Linked DNA regions of Homo sapiens: all the other regions are linked to region 1. The links are contacts of gene promoters, found by promoter capture Hi-C in blood cells and fetal thymus (Javierre and others, 2016). All regions are on one chromosome and are shown on one strand. Each heading gives the region's core, a stretch centred on a gene start or on the middle of the fragment in contact. The rest is flanking DNA. Distances are from core to core; before and after follow the strand shown.

Region 1 (3,535 bases), core at 662-3,161:
GGCGCCCGCCATCACACCTGGCTAATTTTTGTATTTTTAGTAGAGACAGGGTTTCACCATGTTAGCCAGGCTGGTCTTGAACTCCTGACCTCAGGTGATCCATGCACCTCGGCCTCCCAAAGTGCTGGGATTACAGGCGTGAGCCACCGTGCCTGGCCAAATTTTTTTGTAGAGATGGGATCTTGCTGTGTTGCCCAGGCTGGTCTTGAACTCCTGGCCTCAAGTGATCCTCCTGCCTCAGCCTCCTAAAGTGCAATAGGATTACAGGCAAGAGCCACCACTCCTGGCCCACTGCAACATTCTTGAAGCTCTCAAGTCTTCATCTGACACCTTGTCAAGATGGGGAACTCTTGTGTTAAACCATCCTGTTAAGTTACTGTATAAAAATAAAACTGCTCCCAAGCATTGATTGAAACTGTTTTGGTATGAGTTTCCTGAGAGAAAAGTGAGGCCCTAACCATTTTTTTCCATGAACTATGACCCCAGTACGGTATACCTAATGTCCTTCACAGCCTAACAAAATAGTTGAGGCAACCCTGCTCATCCTGTCTAGTTTATCAGTATTTAGATGTAAGGCGGATTTAAAGCTAATCTGGGACTGAGAATTGCAACTAATTCCATAGAAGTCATTCAATTTAGCACATAAATGTTCCTGCAAGATGCCAGAGCAAGTGAGAAATCATCTGTAGCAAAGCAAAGAGTGGTGATGGTTCATCACCTTTTACAACGGAAAGGCAAACATGAAGAAGGAAATTCTCCCTCCTAAAATTCCTCATTAAATCGATAAGCTATCTTCACAGCCTTTATGGATAACATCCAGAGTCCTCGGTTCATCTGAGGAGTCCATTTTCAAGGTGGCCAACAGGGAAGAAGAGCTTTCAGGCTTCTCTTTGCTATGGCTCATGAATGCCAGGTCCCCTTTATTGCTTTCTGAACACACTGCTGGGAAAGCTTGATGAGGTCAGTGCTCAAATCCCTGCAGCTGTCCCCCTTGAGGAACTTCTTGGCAAACCTGCATTGAAGAAACACTGATTGCGTTCACGCTTCATGTCATGGTTTGCCTTCCCCACACTGCTCCTGGCGACAGTGGTGACGCAGCACTCGGATGTTGTCACCTATTCATTATTTTTTCAGTTCTATTCCCAATTCCCAACCCTTCTTTTGAAACACAGCTAGGTATGTGCACTTCAAATGCTCCAGAAAAACCCAAGGTCACATTTCAAATAGGATGGTTATGGTCACCATAAAGGTGGTGACGTTTGAGTGGTGGAAGAGGGTGCGGGACGGCGTTGCAGGCAGAGGAACACAGCCAGGACACTATTATAAGTAACTCTGTGATCGTGTCTTGTGGTGATACAGTATAATTCAACACAGGTTAGAGCAGTTACTATGATCGTTCTTTCCTAAAAGGCTTTGATTTTGGAGAAAGAACCTTGAGGATCGGTGGGGACTTTCTTGGCCTGAAAGGTATCACCAGCAGCAGGAGCAGGAGGCTGCTCACATTTCGTGTCTTCACTTGGGGTGGACGTTGGCTGCAACCCTCAAATGCTGGGAGTCGTCAACCAACTGAGCCCTGTTGTCCAATGTGCCCCGGGCAAGGATGTGGGTGCAAATCCTGCTTCCGGGCGACCACTGACTTCCTTGGCTTCAGTGTCCAATTAGAAAAAAAAAAGAAAGTAGAAATTCGGTAAGAAATCCGTGAACGAGGTCCGTCCTCCACCCCCGACTCAAGCCAAGAGATAGCACAGAACGTTCCCACACGCGCTGTCCCGGCCCCGGCGAGCGTAGCCGGGATTTCTCCCCCGCCACGCCCCTCGGCCACGCCCCCCTGCGTTTGGCCCAGCGACGGGGCGGGGTCGGCCTGCGATTGGCCGGGACCACGACCGCGTCCGGGCGCGCCACGTGTGCGTAGGAGCGCACCGGAAGCGCCCGGCTGGAGGCGCGGCGGCAGGGCTGGGCGGCGGCGGCGGCGGCGGTCATGGAACGCCAAGAGGAGTCTCTGTCCGCGCGGCCGGCCCTGGAGACCGAGGGGCTGCGCTTCCTGCACACCACGGGTGAGTCGTTGCGGGGCAGCCGGGCGCGCGCCGCCACTTTTGCGACGCGCAGCCATGATGGGTGGGTCGTCCGCCGCTGCACCGGGCGCCGGAGCCTGGGAGGCCTGGGAACGGTCGGGCGTTGGCGCTTACGCGGACCTTGGGCAGCAGGCCCGGACCTTGCGCGGAGGCTTCTCGGGAGCCGCACTTCCCTGGGCGGCTCGGCTGTCCCTTGTTTGCGCAAGTCTTTTTTGCGAACCAAGCCCTTCCTGTGGTAGTTACTGGGGTCACTCGGCCGTTGGCGTTTGCCTCTGGGACCCGTCCCACACAGCCCCATACACACTCCTGACTCCCCGCGCTGTCACCCCTTTCTATGTGGCTCTGAAAGGCCTTTGCCTTCCTGATTCAGATTAGTTGCTCTTCATTCTTCAAAACCCAGTTGCTGTGCCCTCCACACTCTAACTGCCCCCGACTCCCCAGATGGTTGGGAAGTCTCACTTCTCAGTGATCCCTGAATTGTCGCACTTCTTGAGTTCGTGTTTTAACGATCTACTTAGGAGGCTTTTTCCTCAGCCTAGACCATGAAGGCTTTGAGGGCAGGAGTTACACTTTGTGTTTGTTGAGTCTTATGGAAAGGTCAACTAGTAGTGTCATTTTTAGTTTTTTGAAAACTGTTTTTCTTTTCAGTGGGCTCCCTGCTGGCCACCTATGGCTGGTACATCGTCTTCAGCTGCATCCTTCTCTACGTGGTCTTTCAGAAGCTTTCCGCCCGGCTAAGAGCCTTGAGGCAGAGGCAGCTGGACCGAGCTGCGGCTGCTGTGGGTTAGTGCCTGATAACCGAAATGAAAGCGGTGGTTTTGCACCTCCTTTATATTAAGAGTTAGTCTCTTAGTAAAAGTAAGAGGGGCCACACAGGAAGACCCTGTCTCTATTTAAAAAAAAAAAAAATAGCCGGGAGTGGCGGCACGCACCTGTAGTCCCAGCTGCTCAGGAGGCTGAGGCGGGATAATCACTTGAGTCCAGGGAGTCAAAGCTGCAGTGGGCTATGCTCGGGCCACACTACACTCCAGCCTGGGCAATTGATTGAGACCTTGTCTTTAAAAAAAAAAAAAAAAAAAAAGTAGGAAGTATATGGTTCTCGGTGGGGCGCGGTGGCTCACACCTGTAATCCCAGCACTTTGGGAAGCCGAGGCAGGAGGATGACTTGAGGTCAGGGGTTCGAGAACAGCCTGGCCAACATGGTGAAACCCTGTCTCTACTAAAAATACAAATATTAGTGGGGCGTGGTGACGGGCACCTGTAATCCCAGCTATTAGGGTGGCTGAGGCAGGAGAAATCGCTTGAACCTGGGAGCTGGAGATTGCAGTGAGCTGAGATTGTGCCACTGCACTCCAGCCTGGGCAACAGAGTGAGACTGTCTTTTCTTTCTTTTTTTTTTTTTTTTCTATGAGATGGAGTCTAGCCTTGTTGCAAAGAGCGAGACTCTATGAGTAGACGTTATG
Region 2 (3,530 bases), core at 86-2,585, 630 kb after region 1:
ATATATATAAAAAATCCCTCCCCTACAATGAAAACCAACCAAACAAACAGAAAACCCAAAAGTGTATACCTGCTTTCTGATTTCACAGCAAATCAGAAATTGCATAGGATATACTTTGTGCAAGGCAAAAAGCCTTTTAAGTATCTAGAATAGAACTCCTAATCTTGCTCACAGTTCTGGCATATCAGATATCATCAAATTTGTGTTTTAAGTAGTCTTTCATGACCTTGGCAATTGGTAGTTCATCAAGTAGCTTTAGGTTTTGAAGGCCTATACATTGTCGAATTTTAATTCGGCACAGGTCCTGCAAGTTTCTGGGCTGTCCTAAAAAGACAGAAAAAAGAAAATGTTACAAAGCCACAAAGCACAATATTTAAGGCACTTTTGAAAAGAACTGTTCATTTCCCTGGAAGTTCTCTCTATGGACTTGACATGCAAAGGACCGGAAAGATACCAACTCAAAGTGTCCTAGGACCTTCATGCGATGCCTTATTTGATCCTTTTCACAACCGTGGGATGGTGGATATTTTCAACTCCATTTTACCAATAAGAAAACTGAGTATCAGATGTAAACAAGTTGCTTAATATCAGACAACCAATTAAGGCTTTCAACTGAGACCAAAAACAGTTTTGATTCTAAGCCTCATATCCTTTCTGTTATAAATCAGGAAAATTCTGGTTCTCGTCCTGACTAGGTCTCTCTCACGCTGGGTGAGCCACTGTGAGCCAATCATTCCTCTGAGCCTTGGCTTCTCAATCTGAAAAGTGTGGGGACTGAAAGAGATGTCCCCTATTGTGAGCCTCCCTTTCAGCTCTGGGTCTAGGACACTGGAGCCCGGACACCCACCACGGTCTCTGTGGAGCTTTCCAAACAAGCTTTCCAGATCTGCTCACCTGTTTTCCGTGATTCTGAACACAGCAGAACCTTGGTTGTAAGGCTGACAGTTGAGGAGTGCAGCAGAAGGGGGTGTGAAAAAGCGCCTCAAGGTATTCTGAATCTACATCGCTTCAAGCTTCCACACCCTGATCACTTGCCAATAAAAACCCGTTATATCTCAATTCAAAAGAAAAATCACAAAATCCTATTTCTTTCCCTTTGGAATATTTTGTTTTACAAAAACAATACAGATGGCTCCAAAAACAAGGAAGAATTCTTCAACTGTGCTTCAGTAGTGTTTGGAGTCAAGGAAGTTTTGCTTTCATATTAAACATGATAATAAAGCTAATATATATTGAATACTTACTCTGCGCCATGTATTGTTAAGAGCTCATGACATGTATTAACTCCTTTCATCCTTTTACGAGGGAAGTACTTTGATCATCATCCCCATTTTATAGAGTCTCAGAGAGATTAAGTAACATGCTTAAAGTCAAGTTGAATGCCATTTTTCAGTCATTCTCAAACTTTTTGTTTTCAAAACTCCTTTACACTTTAAAAAATTATTGCGAACCCCCAGAAACTTTTATGTGGGCTATCTCTATAGTAAATGCCATATTATAAGTTAAAACAGACATTTTAGAAATACTTTTAAATTCATTCTAATAAACCATTACATGTTAACATAAATAACACATCATTATGAAAAGTAACTATATTTTCCAAAACCAAAAAAAAATTTAACAAGAACGTCATTCTTTCACATTTTTGCAAAGCTTTTAATGTATGGTTTAATAGATGATAGCTGAATTTTCATATATGCTTCTGAATTCAATCTGTTGAGATAAGTCACATCAATCACACCACCTCGTCTCTGGAAAAAACTGACACTCATGATAAAAGGAATGAGAGAAAGGCAAATCATGTCTCAGTGTTATTATGAAAATCAGGAGGAGACCCATGGAGAGAAAACAGAGTCCGGGATTACACCGCAACTTCTCGCTTACCTGTGCAGTGTAATTTTGAGCTGTCTCTTTGTAGTCCTAAGAGACAGGAGCTCCCGTTCTCAGCCTACTAACCCATAACTGTGGGCAAGTCGTGTACACTCCCTGACATGGCTCAGCTGCAAACAAGCTTCTACACTGATCACAAGAAATAGGCCATCAATGATGTTGCCTTCTCAATCCCTGCTGTCTCTTAAAGTGTTGACCTTAGTAACATCATCAATTAATTACTAAAGGGCAGAAATGAGTTCCACAAATATGTGGAGTTTGATTTCCTTATTAAGGGTCAGTTTCTGTGAATGCCCTTGGTCAAACACATGGAACGGGAGAACACCTCCTTAAAAGAAGTTGTGGAAAGAGAATACGCGGAGAAGTACACCGCACCCCAACCAGAATGAAGTGTCCTTGATGAGTGGACCAGTTCAATTCAAGGGACAGAGGTATGGATCTTGACTGGTTCTTATGATGAGACTTCTCGAATCTGGTCCTTGGAAGGAAAGTCAACATTGACAATTGTGGGACACATGGATATTGTTAACAGATGTGGCCTGGGTGACAAAAGACAGTTTGTGTTACTATTGAGTGGCTCTATGGATCAGACTATTCTCTTATGGGAGTGGAATGTCCAGAGAAACAAAGTGAAAACCCTATGCTGCTGCCCAAGTGTAGATTCCACAGCTATTGATAGCTCAGGAACTAAATTTTGCAGTGGCTCCTGAGATAAGATGCTAAGGATCTGGTCTACTGTCCCTACAGAAGAAGATGAAATGGAGGAATCCACAAACTGACCAAGAAAGAAACAGAAAACAGAGCAGTTGGGACTAACAAGGACTCCCATAGTGACCTTCTCTGGCCACAAGGAAGCAATCTCCTCAGTGCTGTGGTCAGATGCTGAAGAAATCTGCAGCGTATCTTGGGACCATGAAATTAGCGTGTGGGATGTCGCGTTTGGCAATCTTAAGTCAACTTTACAGGAAATAAAGTGTTTAATTGTATTTCCTATTCTCCACTTTGTAAATGTTTAGCATCTGGAAGCACAGATAGGCATATCAGACTGTGGGATCCCCAAACTAAAGATGGTTCTTTCGTGTTGCCGTCCCTAACCTCACATACAGGTTGGGAGACATCAGTAAAACGGTCTCCTACCCATGAACCACAGCAGATTTCAGGATCCTTATATAACACCGTCAAGCTGTGGGATTCAAGAAGTTGTAAGGCTCCTCTCTATGATGTGGCTGCTCATGAAGAGAAAGTTCTGAGAGCAGACTAGACAGACACAGGGCTCCTTCCGAGTGGAGGAGCAGATAATAAACTGTATTCCTACAGATATTCCGGGGGGCATGAACTCGAATGATAATTTGATTATAGAGATTCTTTCTATAAATGAAAATTGGTAGAGAATCATGAAATTACATTGATGCAGATGCAGAAAGCAGCCTTTTGAAGTTTATATAAAGTTTTCACCCTTCATAACACCTAACATATCACTGTCTTTTCTTATTTTGTATTTATAATACAAAAGTTCGTGTTTATAAAACAGAAACTGTGGCTTGCATTCTCTATTTAAAAAAGAAAAAAAGGGAAGAAATCATTTTGACCTCACAGTTACCCTAAAAGGGTCTTGGGGACTCCAGGGCCCACTAGACCAT
Region 3 (3,202 bases), core at 144-2,643, 660 kb after region 1:
GATAGCTGTAATAATAAAAAAGTACAGGGAACAATAATATCATATAACAGAGGGATAACATCACACAGGGAACAACAGTATCACATAGCAGGGATATATACAAGGATCCTAGGTAACCTGGTCTGGATATATACAAGGATCCCGGGTGACCCGGTCTGGCTGGTAAGAGGTTTCCCTGAGAAAACGATCAGTGAGAGCTGAGAGAGAAGCAGGCAGAGCAAGGTGATGGGGCAGGGGTGGGGAGAGAGCAGAAGCGTGACCCAAGAGGGTCCCAGGCCAAAACCTTTGCACTCAGTGACTCTGAAAGAATGCAGAGGGGCTGTGGCTCAAAGCTGCAGCTGGAAAGGTAAGAGGGGCCAGGCACTGCAGCACCATGTGGATCACACTATAAACTTTGAATATCATCCTAAGAGAAATGGGAAACCAATTATGGATTTTTAAAAGGAAATATTTTTATTTCCATTTTAACAGGTCACATTATTTGGAGACTGGTTGGGAGGGGGCAAGACTGGAGGCAGGGATGGAAGAGACCACTGTAGCAGTCCTGGTGAGGAATGTTTCCTGGCCCAAAAATGGGGTGGCATCTCCAGGGAAAGGAAGTGAAAAGCTCTGACAACTTTTTAGGAGGCAGAATCAATAAGACTTAGCAATCAGTCATATTAGAGGTAAGGAAAAGGTACCAAGGATGGTTTCTAGATTTCTGGCATGGCAATCAGAGGCTGTGGTGACACTTACTAGAATGAACACCGTGGTGAGAATGGACACAGCTTGTGCTGTGCTGGCGATGTCTATGAGCCATGAGAGTGCAGACATTAAACACATAGTTGGCTACACTGATCTAGAGGTCATAAGCCAGGACTACACTAAATACAGAGCATGCCTAAGCACCACAGGTGGCCATAAGCAAGTGGGCAGTAGGTGTTTGCTTCTACTAATTTTTCTAAGTTGGTTCATAATACACTGGGTGAAACACTTTCTGAATCTCTTATTCTACTAGGGAAAGGGTATCAGGTAAAAGGTGCTACATAAAAACAAATACAGGGCTTATCCAAAATATTTGTTGTTTTAAATAAAAACTCAGAAATGGAACCACACATATATGAAAACCTTATATCTGACCTAGTGCACAGTAATGAAGAAAGAAGGCATGATTTAGGCTGTCTTTATGGGAAAAAAGTGAAACTGTACCAGGCTACCTCATATACACCAAAGCCAATTCTGAACAGATTAAAAAGCTAAATACCATAAAACATTTTAGAAGAAAACAAAGGCAAATAATGACCCTGCAGTATACTTCCTAAACAAGACACCAAGGGCACAAACGATAAGGCTAAAGAAAACCATAATTCACCTACATTGAAATGTAGACTTCTGCCCGACAACAAAAACAAGAATGTGAAAAAACTACAGAAAGAGAGAAAACATTGCAAAATCTAACAAAGGAGAATATATAAACAATTCCAACAAATCAGTAAGACAAAAAGCCCAGTCTTGCAATGTTTGTTACTCATATGTCATTTTTTCCAAGAAAAAAAAAGAAAAAGAGAGGCAGGTATATCACACCAGGAAAGAGAAAAACCATCTGGTAAGTACATCACTAGCAAAGGCAGGTGAACAGGCACTATCCTGCCCGGTCAGTAAGGACATAAAATGATGACAATCTCTTCGGAGGACAACTTGCCAATATCCATAAAAAATGTTTTGACTTGGCAAATGCACTTCTAGGAGTTAGTCAAGAAATAAACTCTCACATAATGTAACACGATCATTCAAGGACATTCTCTGTAATGTTTCTAGTAGCAGAAAAATGAAAACTTACAATGTCCAACAATAAGAAGTGTAAATAAATTACATCCATACGATGGAATCTGAGACAGAGTCCTATGCAGATAAGGAACTATCACGAAATTAACTGTTATGTGAAAAAATCAAGAGGAGGAACAGAACATTTTAAAAAGGGAGCTGGCTACAAGGTAGAAAACGGAAAAATATTTCTGCCTACATGCATAGACTATCTCTGGATGGTACAAAAGAAACCGGTGAAAGAGATGGCCTCTAGAAGAAGAGTAAAGGACTGGGGCTAAAAGTTAGAGACTTGCCCTCACTGATCAGCTTTAAGTGGCTTTTTAACCATGTATGTATGCACTACCTTTTCAAAAAACAAAATCTCCTGCTGTGAAAATTCCAGCCATTCTCAAAAAATAAAAGAGAATAAACAAATGATAGTATATCCATACCTATCAATACTATATTCAGCAGCTGAAAAGAAGAGTGAATCAATATGTATTAATAGAACCAACAGAAGGTTTCTTTGGGGGTAATGACAATGTTTTAAAATTGACTTTGCTGATGAATATCCAACTCCATGAATATGCCGAAAGCCATTAACTGTACACTTTAAATGAGTGAATTCTGTGGCATGTGAATTACATCTCAATAAAGCTATTAAAATATATATAGATATACAGTCATATATACTACTTAACAACAGGGATACATTCTGAGGACTAGGTTGTTAGGTGATTTCGCTCTTGTGTGAACACCATAAAATGCACTCACACAAACCTAGACGGCACAGCGTACTACACACCCAGGTTATATATAGCTTACTGTTCTTAGGCCACAAGCCTGTACAGCATGTTACTGTACTGAATACTGGAGGCAACTGTAATACAATGGCATTTGTGTACCTAACCATAGAAAAGGTACAGTAAAACATGGTATTATAATTTTATGGGACCACCATTGTAAATGGGGTCCATGATTGAGCAAAATGTCCTTATGCTGCACGTAACTAGATACATACATATATACAGAGAGAAAGATTCAGAAACTATAGCCCAAGCTTGTCCAACCTGCAGCCCACGGTGGGCATGCAGCCCAGGACAGCTTTGAATACAGCCTAACACAAATTCATAAACTTTCTTAAAATATTATAAGACTTTTTTGCTTTTTTTTTTTTTTTTTTTGCTCATCAGCTGTTGTTAAGTGTTAGTGCATTTTATTCATGGCCCAAGACAATTCTTCTTCCAGTGTGGCCCAGGGAAGCCAAAAGACTGGATGCCCCTGCTACAGCCTCTAAGCCCCTCACTGGTTTTTTCTTTTTTTCCCCCCACCATTGGTTTTGATAAAGTTTTACTGGAACACAGCCACACCCATTAGTTTACATACTATCTGTGGCTGCTTCCAGGCTCCGACTGCA
Region 4 (3,221 bases), core at 354-2,853, 930 kb after region 1:
CCTGCTCAGCCTACAGGTTGCTTTTGGGTGCCCTAAATTTTTTATAGCCACTTCTTGCACACCTCCATTAGATGAATGCTTTCATATAAATCTTTAACATGCCTTAGAATTAATTTTAGTTTGTGTTATGACTCTGTAGTTGTTAGCTATTGCTGCATAACAAATTAGTCCAAAACTTAGTGACTCAAAACACTAATAATAATTTATTTTCTCTTGTTTTTTTAACGGTCTGGAATTCAGCCAGGGTGGACACAGTGGGAAGGGCTTGTCTCTACTCATGGTGTTTGGGGCAGACTCAAAGGCTGGGGGCTGAAATCATCGGAAGGCCTGACTGAGGGTAGAGGATCTGCTTCCAAAATGACTCACTCACATGACAAATTAGTTGGTTCTGGCAAGTTGGCCTCCTTTCCAAGAAGTGCCTCTCCACACATGTGCTTCTCTGCAGGGTTGCTTGAGTGTCCTCATGACATGGCTGGTGGTTCCCAAAAAAGCAAGTGATCCAAGAGCAACATTCAGGAATAAGTTCAATCCTTTCTATGACCTAGCCTCAGAACTCACAAAGCATCACTCTCAATACGCCCTATTCATCAGAAGCCAGGCAGTAATTCCAGCACACTTTCTAGGCAGAGGAATTAGGTACACCTGTTGAAGGGAAGCAGGTCATAATTAGAGGATATATTTTTGAACCACCACAGAATCTAACTTAGGTTCGTACAAATATATAAACAGCTGTCCAATACCACATATTGAATAGTCTATCATTACTATATCAGTCTGAGCCATGACTATTTGCATTTACTAAGAATGTGTGTTATTACCATTGAAGACCTTCCAGTGGGACAAGATGTGAAAGCAGAAGACAGTGGTATTGATGATCCTGACCCTGTATAGGCCTAGGCTAATGTGTGTTTGTGTCTTAATATTTGACAAAAAGTTTAAAATGTAAAAAATAAACAACTTCAAAAGTAGGAAAAAAGCTTATAGAATAAGGATATGAAGAATGAAAATATTTTTGTATAGCTGTACAATGTGTTTGTGTATTCAAGCTGTTATTAAAAGAGTCAAAAAATTTAAAAATTCTTAAGGTAGAAAAGTTACAGTAAGCTAAAGTGAATATATTATTGAAGGAAAGAAAATTTTTAAAAATAAATTGAGTGTGGGCCTAGTGTACAGGGTTTTAAAGTCTACAGTAGTGTACAGTAATGTCCTAGGCCTTCGTATTTACTCACCACTCACTTACTGACTCACCCAGAGCAACTTTCAGTCCCGTAAGCTCCAAGCTTACGGTAGGTGCCCTAGGCAGGTGCACCAGTTTCAATCTTTCATACCATATTTTTACTGTATCTTTTCTATGTTTAGATACACAAATACTTACCATTGTGTTACAGTTGCCTACAGTGTTCAGTACCACACTGTACAGGTTTGTAGTCTAGAAGCACAGCCTACAGCCTGGGTGTGTAGTAGGCTGTGCTGTTTAGGTTTGGGTAAGTACACTCTATATTGTTTGCACAATGATGCAATTGCCTGACGATGCATTTCTCAGAACGTCTGCTCACTGTTACGCAACGGAGGACTGTGAATTGGGAGTTTATTTTGTTTTTCAGTCTGTACTGGCAGCGAATCATACATAGCTTAGTTTATCAGACAAGCTGCTTTTCTTGAGCAAAGAAAGAACTAGGAGAGAAACGGGGCTTTGGAACCCTGATGCGGCAATGCTGAAAGAGGAGAAATATCCCAAGGAAGGGAAAGGTGTGTTGCAGAACGATGAAAAATAGGCGGCTTCTCACAGCTGTTCTCAGGGGACGAGACGGGGTGGGATGCAGCTCCGCCGGTGCCTAACACTAAGGGCCCTCATCCTGCCGATTCAGTTGTGTCGGGACCGCCAGTGCTGTCTCCTCGTCAGATGCTGCTTCTGGTCTCCCCGCAGAAGATGCCACTGGAGTTGCCTTTTCAAGGATGGGGACATTTGAAGGCCCTGGACGCTCAGCTCTGAGGCTGGCTGGGATCTCACTAGCACCCCCTGGTGGAGGCCGGAGCCAGGCTGACGCGGGAAAGTGGGGCACGGAAGCGCTGCGGATTGGACCGGCGGCAGCTAGGCCGAAACGCCTGTATTTAAAGGGATAGTAACTCGGACTCGTTCTGCAATATCCCCACAAGGGCCTGACTGAGCGAGCGAGCATGGACGGCCGCGGGGCTTTCTGGACAGTGGCCATTCCCAGAGCCAGGCAGGAAGGCCTCGGGAGGCTGGGGCTCCCGTTCCCGGTGAAGCGGACGCCGCCAGCGCCCCAGAACCCAGGAGGAAGCACACAGGCCCCACAGAGAGTGGTTGGCAAGAGTCACTCGGGGATTAGGATGCCGGCCAAATCGCGGAATTTGAGGCTGGAATCCAAGCTCAACAGGAAAGTAGTGAAATACAAATGGGGAAAACAGGGCTCTGGAGCGGGGAGGGAGCTGGTGCCGGCATTTCCCACCAACGCCGGTTTAGGAAGACGGGACCGATGCCGGCCGCCCCCTGCTGGAGGGGATGTGGCATCTCACGGGCTGCCAGGGAGCGGGGTTGGCTACTCCTGCAACCAGCGTGAAGAGGGTCTCAGGGGAGGCTGTGGTGGGATCCCCCACGTGCCCTTGTTCCTCTCACCGTTACCTCTGGATGCCTCGGGGCAAAGGCCTTCTTCCACCTATAGACAGAGTCTACGCAGGGGTCTTGGAACCCGGGCACACCAGTCCCCAGCTAACGAAATCCCCGAGTTGGGGGATTTGAGAGGGTCACGTTTGGCCCAAGAACCCGCAGTCCTCTTTGGTCTTCGGCCCTCTATTTCTAAGCGTGGGCTTCTGGCACGGCGGCTCTGGGCACAGCCCATGCTGCTTTCGGGCTGGGTGGTTTCAACGACGACAACAATTATCACAGTGACGGTGACCTTCACCCCAACAGGACTGCTGTGTGTGAAGCACTCAAGAGGGCCCCTACAACCAACCTGCCAGGAGTCGGCTCCTGAAAACAGGGTCGGAAAAGGTCAGTGCCCATCAGAATCGAGCTGTCGGCAAAAAGCTGGAGAGGTTAGGAGCTTTGTCTATCTCAAGGGTAACAAACTGCTTTGACCCTGAGGGCTCTGAAGACGACTTTCCCTCACCGCAGCTCTCAAGACAACAGGGATCAGACTCAGAAAGACACTGCCTGTATAAGGCTCTTGTTTGTCTTGTTTTTAATTCCTGCCCTCTGC

The links. The method cuts DNA at HindIII sites, captures the fragments that hold promoters and counts their contacts. A CHiCAGO score of 5 or more calls a contact.
Region 2: a fragment that was not itself captured here is called in contact with the fragment with the promoter of SELENOS in region 1 in 1 of 17 cell types (endothelial precursors); the score reaches 5.8 in endothelial precursors.
Region 3: a contact is called between a fragment that was not itself captured here and the fragment with the promoter of SELENOS in region 1, in 5 of 17 cell types (monocytes, M0 macrophages, total B cells and 2 more). The highest score is 6.6, in monocytes.
Region 4: a contact is called between the fragment with the promoter of SPATA41 here and the fragment with the promoter of SELENOS in region 1, in 1 of 17 cell types (non-activated CD4 T cells). The highest score is 5.2, in non-activated CD4 T cells.

The regions. Positions count from the first base shown.
Region 1 is chr15:101,275,861-101,279,395 of GRCh38, reverse strand. SELENOS (selenoprotein S) reads left to right here and starts at 1,911. Exons shown (of 6, transcript NM_018445.6): 1 at 1,911-2,054; 2 at 2,721-2,855. The coding sequence starts at 1,979. RefSeq lists a silencer at 1,706-2,035. The HindIII fragment of the contact is 1,843 bases long and covers 954-2,796 here.
Region 2 is chr15:100,645,117-100,648,646 of GRCh38, reverse strand. ASB7 (ankyrin repeat and SOCS box containing 7) reads right to left here. Exons shown (of 6, transcript NM_198243.3): 6 at 1-324. The coding sequence ends at 185. It also overlaps the pseudogene WDR12P2. Among named protein-coding and RNA genes, the nearest start is that of ASB7, 44 kb to the right of the region's middle. The HindIII fragment of the contact is 640 bases long and covers 1,016-1,655 here.
Region 3 is chr15:100,614,510-100,617,711 of GRCh38, reverse strand. The region is part of intron 4 of ASB7 (ankyrin repeat and SOCS box containing 7); the gene reads right to left. Among named protein-coding and RNA genes, the nearest start is that of ASB7, 14 kb to the right of the region's middle. The HindIII fragment of the contact is 2,908 bases long and covers 1-2,847 here.
Region 4 is chr15:100,349,100-100,352,320 of GRCh38, reverse strand. It overlaps SPATA41 (spermatogenesis associated 41), which reads left to right and starts at 1,603. Exons shown (of 2, transcript NR_028139.1): 1 at 1,603-3,221. It overlaps LOC105371021 (a long non-coding RNA gene), which reads right to left and starts at 2,715. Exons shown (of 3, transcript XR_007064777.1): 1 at 2,639-2,715; 2 at 1,376-1,946; 3 at 177-642. RefSeq lists an enhancer at 2,176-2,435. The HindIII fragment of the contact is 2,620 bases long and covers 1,283-3,221 here.